2 separate regions of the Homo sapiens genome follow, and region 1 is linked to region 2. Evidence: promoter capture Hi-C in 16 types of primary human blood cells and fetal thymus (Javierre and others, 2016). All regions are on one chromosome and are shown on one strand. Each heading gives the region's core, a stretch centred on a gene start or on the middle of the fragment in contact. The rest is flanking DNA. Distances are from core to core; before and after follow the strand shown. Region 1 overlaps DUSP11 (dual specificity phosphatase 11). Region 2 holds the start of SLC4A5 (solute carrier family 4 member 5).

Region 1 (4,516 bases), core at 462-2,961, 580 kb after region 2:
GTTGGGAATGGACCCAGTGATACAAACCTGTCCTGGAATTCTACCTGGAGACCAGAGCTGGCCTGAAAATTACTGGTGTGACTTTTAATTAGTTCAGGTCTAATCAGGTTTCTTTATTGTTCCCTTATGTATTCAAGCTTAAGGAAAAATTGCATTGCTGTTTACCTCTTTGCTGATAAATTTGCAGTAATTACAGCATTGCAGGAAAAACAATCTGTTATTCCAGTCTTAAATTTTTCTAAAAGAAGACAATATTTTAGAACTGAAGCATTGAGAACTTCCCTTGCAAATTATTTTTAAAATTCTATCTTGTTTTTCTATGTATTTCTTTCTGACTAGACTTGTGATATGCGTGTGTTTATGTACAGAAATTTTTAGTGTTTTTGTTATGTTCTGTTATTGACCCAAAGGCCATCTTTATTTTCTATAACTGTTCAAAATTTATATTAAAATCTACTTAGGAGATAATTTCTTTAGAACCTAGTTACTACCTGTAATTAATTGTGGTATTTTTGTGATTAGATATTACTTTCTTTGGCAGTCAGTTGTGGGATTTGACCAACTTCCTTTGACTGAATTGTCAGATATACGGTCTCACACAGGAATGGATGAACTTTTAGGGATTGTCAATTGAGCAAGAGAGACTGACTGATAAACCAGATTGCTGGTTTATTCAATTATAGTGAGTAAGTTACCTGGCAGGGTAATTGCCATCAACTGAGTAGAACTATCCAGAAAACTTGAAAACTTTTATAAAGGTGATAAACAGAGTAGAATATGTCCATTTAAAGGCTGTGGATGTCTAGCAAGACTACTGTGTTATTGCTCCGTTGTTGAATATAACCTCCTGGGATCTTTCTCCAGTTGCCTCTCCTCTTAAGTGGAGTTGTGGCTTACCTTTTTTTTTTTTTTTTTTTTTGAGACAGGGTCTTGCTCTGTCACCCAGGCTGGAGTGCAGTGGTGCCATCTAGGCTCACTGCAGCCTCTGCCTCCTGGCTGAAGTGATCCTCCCACCTCAGCCTCCCTAGTAGCTGAGACTACAGGTGTGGACTACAATGCCTGGCCAATTTTTTGTATTTTTTTTAATAGAGACCAGGTTTTGCCATGTTGCCCAGGCTGGTCTCAAACTCCTTAGCTCAAGCGAATCCACTCACCTCAGCCTCCCAAAGTGTTAGGATTATAGCCATGAGCCACTGTGCCTGGCCTACCTTCACTTTTTCCAAGTTGTCTCTTCTGCTGCTATACCTGTGGAACACACAGACCCTTCATTGGGGAGGGTAATTATTTTTAGTTGCAGAGGAAGCCAGAAACCTTTGATGGCTCAAAGAAGTGTCTCATCATCATAACACATAGTAAGCCTCAGTAAATACTTGATGAATACTTGAGCAACCTGGCTTCATTTTTAAATTATTTTAATTAATTTATTTTTAAATTTTTGATAGAGATAAGGTCTCACTTTGTTGCCCAGGTTGGTCTTGAACTCCTGAGCTCAAGCGATCCTCCTGCCTTGGCCTCCCAAAGTGCTGGGATTACAGGCATGAGCCACCATGCCCAGCCATTGGCTTCATTTTTTAAAGCATCTGATTTTGAGGATTTGTGTCATTGAATGTCTGATGCTGCATGTGATAGTTATTTTCTCTTCTCTCATCTATGAACAACATCTGGACCCTGATTTTAAGGAGCTACTGTAGCTCAGCTGTTCTTGGCTGTACGTGATTAGCTCAGTCAGGTTGCTGTTGTAGAACCCCAAAAGTTAGGTTCATGTACCCGGTGCACAGTAAGCCAAACACTGACACATTAATGCTTAGAAAGGTTTATTCAATTTGGCCAAAGTATGAGGGTGGGAGAAGCAGATTCTCAAATATGACCTTCCTTTGCATGTAATTGGGGGCTTTCCCTGATGATCAAAGCTGCTCGTGTCCCTTGGCCAGTCAAATTTCTGGATGCCATCAGGGAGGTCAGTATGACCTAAGGATCATTGTTCTTTAAAAGAAAAACAAGTACGTTAATCTTGCAAGCAGCCCCTGGGGGTTAGGATATAAAGTTAATCACTTGTTAGTGACTGCTCTCTACCAAAATGACTACGTGCGAGCGATCCTGCCTGGAGGAAGCTAAGGACAGAGAAAGAAAAATAAGTAAAATAAACACCTGATGATTTTTCTAATATAGGCTGGGTTACAGTATCCCCACTGACACTGTTCCTTTCCTCAATCTTCAGTTGGGGTGTTGACTCAGTCTAACTACTTCCCGCTGGCAAGGGGCATTCCTAGGGGGCTGAGGAATGGAACTTACTTACCTGCAGTTGAAAATATTCACATGTCCCGGGACTTAGGCAATTTTGTTGTAACATTGTTGAACAGGGTGTCAGGAGCTTGAGAAGGGCGATCTTGCAATCCCACATATATAGTGCCACAGCAGTATAATCCACAGCCAAGGAGTATTCCTGTTCCTATAGTCATAGCTAGAATTACCAGTAATTTTTTCCACCAAGAGGGTACTGACCGGAAGTATTAAGATAATCATTGGTTTAGTGACATCATGAGGTTGGACACAGCATCAGTTTGTACATATCTTGAAGGGCCAGGGTGATGTTTCCTGAATTGTCTGGAATGTACACATAGCATTCAGTTTTCATTATGGCACAAGTTCTCCTTGTGTAGCTGTGAAGACATCAAGGGCCATGTGGTTCTACAAAACTGCTTTTTTCATCATAGTCATCTGAGAGGTGACTAAAGAGATGCCTTTGAATGCATCCTTCAGCACATGCTGGGTATAATTTGTTAGGATCTCAACATGTCAGATAACATTTTTTAAACTAACTTGGGGAACAAAAATGGAGAGGGGATGGTCATACCAGTGGAAAACTGACTTGGTCCGTTGATGCAACACATTTGGGAAATTTCCAGGTTGTCCGTTGGTTTTTGCCAAATGGCCCTGGACCTGTGAGAATCCCAGAGCATATTGTCCTATCTAGCCAATGGGTAATCAGGGCCAAAGATTAGTCCCACATAGCCATTGCACTCCGTATGAAGCTAGCCAATTGAATTCCTGGCCTGTGTCCAATTGGTAGCAAACCAGTCAGTTTGTTGCAGCCCTGGAGTATGTTCACACTGGTGGGGGGAGCATCCAGCCCATATTCTTAGTGATATTTGGCCAGTTATCATAAGAATGCTGTTTTTTTTTTTGTTGTTGTTCCCAACATAAAGGGGCAATTTGATTTATGTGGCCGGTGGCAGGATAAGGGTAGGGGAACACAGTCATTCAAAGATAATCATCCCAAGCTTGATAAAAACCTTCCTCAGTATAGTGGCTATTAATAGCCAAAATTTGGGGGGCTGCCAAGGGAAATTCCTTCAGGAGAGGAGGAGCAGTGTATTCAAAAGTTCGTTGAACAGTCTGATATATAGTAAAAGATTTTCTGTGACCTGGGTTGTGAAGGGTTATATTAATGCCAGGCCATAGCCTTACATTTCCTCGTGTTAGCACACCAGAGACCTGATTTTCTTTGGAATAGTTTTTCATAAAAGTTTGTTACTGTACTCAGTTGTTTCCTTGTAAGAGCAAGACCGACCAAGGTAATACCAACATGCTAGAGATAGGTAACAGCCCTCAAACCCTACGAGCTTCTGTAGGCTATCTGCATAATGTGCCCATTGTAGGAAAAGATTGGTTTCAGCAGACACCGTAAGCCATATAGTACTGTGGTGCTTAGCAAGAAGGCTTTACTTATCTGTGGATGTTTTCTTCAAAAGCAGCTTCAGGTTTTTAGTTGGTTCACATGTCCTTTCAGGTCTATTAACCTGATAGGTCGGGCTGAGGCGGGGGCAATTTTTATCCAGGTATAATGTACCCACGGTTTAACTCCTGCCCAATTGATGAATGCGTGGTCAGAAGGACCTCATAGGGTCTTACCCTTTGAGGGGCTAGTTGGTGATTCAGTCCAGTCTCCCTCCAGGTTTTAAGTAGAACTTGGTCTCTAGCCTAGAAAGGGTGAGGTGGCCTGTCCATGGGGAAGAAGCAAACTCATGAACAGAAGTCGGTATTTCATTTAGCAATTTTAAATAATGTCTAATAGCTCCTTCCCTTTCTAAGATTTTATAGCCTGATCTAGCCCCAATGTGGCTAGGAAGGGTCTCTCATACATAATTTCTAAAGGGCTCAACTAGAGCCTGTTTCAGGGAATGACCCAAATCCTCAGCAGGAGAGAAGGTAGTACTTTGTCCCAAGTTAGATTAGTTTCCTGGCACACTTTAGCAGCAGTTTTTTTTTTTTGTTTTTTTGTTTTTTTTGTTTTTGAGACAGTCTCACTCTGTCGCCCAGGCTGGAGTGGAGTGGCATGATCACGGCTCACTGCAATCTCTACCTCCCGGCTTCAAGCAATTCGTGTGCCTCAGCCTCCCAAGCAGCTGGGACTAAGGGCATGCGCCTCCACGTCCAGCTAATTTTTTTGTATTTTTAGTAGAGATGGGGTTTGCCATGTTGGCCAGGCTGGTCTCAAACTCCTGGGCTCAAATAA
Region 2 (4,497 bases), core at 1,907-4,406:
AAAATATTTATAACATAAATAAGTAACTTTTACAAATAAATAGGAAAAAGAAGCTGGGAGTGGTGGCTCATGCCTGTAATTCCAGCACTTTGGGAGGCTGAGGCAGGTGGATCACTTGAGGCCAGAAGTTTGAGACCAGCCTGGCCAACATGGCGAAACCCCATCTCTATTAAAAATACAAAAATTAGCCTGACATGGTGGCGCATGCCTGTAATCCCAGCTACCTGGGAGGCTGAGGCATGAGAATCACTTGAACCTGAGAGGCAGAGGTTACAGTGAGCTGAGATGGTGGCCAGTGCACTCCAGCCTGGGTGATAGAGTGAGACTCCATCTCAAAAATAAATAAATAAATAAATAAATAGAAAAAAGAAACACATCAATAGAAACATAGATATGAATAGGAAATTCACAAAAAATACACTTACCAAGTTAAATCAACCTTAAGTAAAAAATTCGTTCAAGATTGTAAAGTGAACTGTTAACATTTACTTCTCTTTCCTCCCTAAGTCCAACTGGAACTACATTTTTTAAATGAAAAAAAGTAAAGTATGCAACCTCATGAGAGAACTTGAAAAAAAAAAAGTAAAAAGGAAAAATATCCAAAGCAAAAAAAAAAAAAAAAAAAAAGCATTCCAAAGCAGTGCTGGAATACGAGGAGGGGTTTACAGTATACTTCTTTGGACCTGACGCCTAGCACTTTTCCCTTCTGAGAGAAAATCTGCCATCCCCACTTTAGTCGCCTGGTTCATGTGGGAAACTGAGGCTTAGAGACAGCAGAGCTGGGGAGTGGCAGCAGGATATTGTGGCAGGTGGTGGCAGTCGGGGACTTCAGGCTGTGGTCTCACACCGCCACACTGCCTTTCCCTTTTCTCACAGAGAACATTCAAATGGCTGTCTTTCTCTGGCAAGGTAGAAAGCCTCTCAAATAAGTAAGGAACATGCTTTGGTTAACAGCTAACGAGGCATTAGGTCTGGACAGGGAGACAAGCAGTGCAGCAGCCAAATCCCAGTGGACACTAGACACGAGGAAGAAAGCACGGTGCTGCCAGGGCAGGTCCTCCTCCCTCCTTCCTCCTTCCTCCATTAGGAGGATTCCTGAGCCTGCAAACCTGTTCCCTTTGTGCATCCTGGAGGGACAGCCCCTGCCCCATACCTTCCAATACCCTCACCAAACCAGATGAAGCTCACCCTCAAATTCCTGTGTGAAGTGAGAGACAAAAAAACCCCAAACCTGAAGTGTCTGAAATAAATGTCCAAATTATTTGAACAAAACCTGGGTAGGTAGAAACCAAAGGGTTTCACTTGAATGCTTGGCAGTAACGTCTCAACTGGTCTTTCCACCTGTGCTACAATCCACTGTGAAGTCCATTATTCCATTCTTGTACCAAGTCCCCTTCCACATTCCTTTCACTTCAGACATGTTTGCTGATGTTTACACCTCTCCATAGACTACCCAGCCTATCGTCGCATGCCCAAAGCTTTATTTCCCCAAACCTGCCCTGTGCCAGGGAAACTGCTCTCCAGTTCTCAGGATATTTATGCTATGTTCTCCCACCTCTTATGTCTATATTTTTTGTGGCTTCTTCCCTCTGCCTCAGATACCCCTTGGTAGTTCTACTGTTCTAAATCCTACCCCTATCCTATCCCTTCACTGCATCTCCAAGGCCATTTTCTCCACAAAGCTTTTCTTTAACACATGGGGCTGGTAGGTAAGCCATGAACATTTGTGGAACAAGGTAATCCTCCAAACAAGGGTGATTTTTCTTTCACTGAACCCTTCCCTCCCTTTGTGCTTCTTTTTGGAGCCTCACACTCTTCTGAATTTGTTGAATCCCCAACCAGCTGGAAATTCCCTAAGGCCCGAAACTGTTTCTGGCCTAGGCTGTGCTGATCTTCCTGGGACTAAGGGGTTTCCTGGGTCACAGATCTTCTGTGCTAAAACCAGGAAAGCCTCTGGTGACCCAGCATGTGTTGATCTCCCTAGTCTTGCCTGTCTTTGATTCCATGGATTATTAACAGAAACTATAATGTTGGGTTAATGTGTTGGCTTGGGCATGGCCTCCGAAACATGTTTTTTACATGTCTGCCACCAGCAGGCTCTAGATCCAGGAATGAGGCTTTTCCACTAAGGGAAAACTCCACGTGATCTAGGAAGAAAGTGAGGATATCCAACCAGATGATAAATTTCCTATCTGAAAGAGAAGGTCAACCCTGAAATAAGGAGGCTGAAGACCCTTAGAGAAGCCACAGAAGAGACTGGAAGAAGAGGGGTAGAGTTGCTTTTTTAATGGGGCTTCCAGCTCCTACTTTTCTTCCTGTCTGTAAGTCTCTGAGCTTCTGTTCCAGCTCTGTAAGGTTGGGGACGAGAATGCTCTCCCCACTGGACTGTTGAGAGTTCAATGAGGGGAAATGTGTGCATATACCAGGCCCCATGCTGGGTGCCCAGAGACGCTGCGCCTTCCTGGCATGCTTCTCTTCCCCATCGCTCAGCACCGCGTCCCTCACTCCCTCCACTCCCGATTCTCACTTCCTACTCACTGGCTTCTTCCTTCCCATCTTCCTCCAAACTTCCCATTTTCCACTATGTCTCTCTCACCGTATCTTTTTCACTTAAACAAAAATGGAATTCATAAAAACAGAGGCCAAAAGTCAGGATAAACCTGGAAAAATCACCAAGTACGCAAAGTTTTTCTTGCAAGGTTTGGTTTTTTCAAATGCCTTCTTTGTTTTCCTTGCCCATATCCTTCTTCGGAGAGTCAGGATTTGGGGTTTGCAGAGCTGTGTGGCAGTGGAATGTGGAATGTTCTCCTGAATCTCAGTCCCATGAAGAAAAGAGGCAAAAGTCCTGACATCTTTCCTGAGGATTGTCTGATTTAAAAGAGCTGATTCTCCCCAGGCAAATGACTTACCTTTGTTGTGCTGGGACAAGCTGAACAGGCAAGGAATAAACCTCCCTAGAACACACTGATTAGATTAGCCAGTGAGAACCACTGAAGACGCAGACATTAGATTAAAAAACAGAAAAATGAATGTTACTTTTACAGTGGCTATGAATAGACAAAGACTTTTTGGTTTGAAAATAGTTGGTGAGGCAATAGAGGAGGGGCTATGTTAATAGCAGAGATAGAAAAAACGAGAGGTGGATGGTTCCAACTGCAAGGTCCACCCTAAAGGAATTGGAGTCAGGGCCCAGGAGCCACAGGCCACTGCACTGGGGTAAGTAGAGTGGATTTTACATAAATAAAGTTACAGAGTGGTTGTAGGTTCTGGTTTGGAGATGTGAGTGAACCAACTGAATAGAATAGGCAGATTCCCCAGCCCACCAAGAGTCAGATGAGAATTTTATTGCTTTTTGCTAAAGGCCTGTACAAGACTTAGAGCAAAGATAAGGAGTAACCTGATTGTTGAAACTAATCTATAAGTATTCCAACATAGCAAAGGACAAGTAACGGAATGACGAGGTTTTCCTGTAGTAGTGTTGCGATTTTGTTCTGCTGTGTCCCCCTACTCCAGTTTCCTCTGTGAGGGGAGCGTGTAGTGTGTGCATATCTGTGGAATGTCAGACTTCTAAAGTCAGGGGCTGAGACCTATATCTAGTTAGACCTCTGTGCATATTCTTGAGCCATGGGAGTCTCAGTGGTTGATAGTACTTCACACTTCTTCCAGTTCAATAAGGGTTACCTATGGTGTCTCCTCTGAGTCTCCTAGGAGTCCAGAAAACATGAGACTTGTATAAGAATCCACACTTCAACTAAGCTTTCTGGCCCAAAGAAGGCATTGTTACCAAGGATCTGTTTCTTGAGGTCTTTAGGGAGTGAGAGGGAAGGAACGCATGAGGAACCAGAGCTAGTCCCCATCTCTCTCCCTAGAAGTGACAGACTGCATAGCTCTTATGTATCAGGAGTCCTGGAGATCAGCTGGCTTTCCTTAAAAAAGGGTCATCCAGCCGTGATGAAATCCTGACTTAGAAACCCAGTGCCCTTAGCTTTGTGGGCTTCTGTCCCTGAGAAATGGTGTTTTACCCTCCCTCCAAGCAGGCATCCCAGGATTTGGAATTCAGCTGTGAGCTCATGAGCTGATGGATGTTTCCAGGAGTACCCTGAAGACCACCCAGGTATGCTCTCCCCACCTCCTTTATTTTGGATGGACCAGTCTAAGGAGAGTCATCTTTTCCCACACCATTGGTGGCACTCAGTGAGTGGCTTGTTGCTTGACTGAATGCCTGCCCACACCCTCTCCAGTCAAGTTTATCTTGAGTAACTAAACACTTAGCAATGGAGACACTCATACATCTCCACTGCACTAGAAGTAGGGATGGTGGCCATGCCAACAAAGGAGATAACTTTAGCACAAAGGATGTCACAAGAAACAGATAGTAGAGTGTGTTCTCCAGTGTTATCATTTCCCAAACCAGAATCAACTGGTCTTGGGTTTCCTTCCCTCATCCTTCATCTGTAGAAAACTTTGTTTCTTGAGCTACTTCAGATCTACTTCCCT

What was found. Contacts are between HindIII fragments. The CHiCAGO score rates a contact against its expected background, and 5 or more counts as called.
Region 1: a contact is called between a fragment that was not itself captured here and the fragment with the promoter of SLC4A5 in region 2, in 5 of 17 cell types (activated CD4 T cells, total CD8 T cells, non-activated CD4 T cells and 2 more). The highest score is 8.1, in activated CD4 T cells.

What each region holds. Positions count from the first base shown.
Region 1 is chr2:73,758,165-73,762,680 of GRCh38, reverse strand. It overlaps DUSP11 (dual specificity phosphatase 11), which reads left to right. Exons shown (of 9, transcript NM_003584.3): 9 at 1-468. The coding sequence ends at 20. Among named protein-coding and RNA genes, the nearest start is that of DUSP11, 20 kb to the left of the region's middle. The HindIII fragment of the contact is 3,144 bases long and covers 140-3,283 here.
Region 2 is chr2:74,342,075-74,346,571 of GRCh38, reverse strand. It overlaps SLC4A5 (solute carrier family 4 member 5), which reads left to right and starts at 3,156. Exons shown (of 31, transcript NM_133478.3): 1 at 3,156-3,216; 2 at 4,038-4,114. The HindIII fragment of the contact is 2,074 bases long and covers 1,685-3,758 here.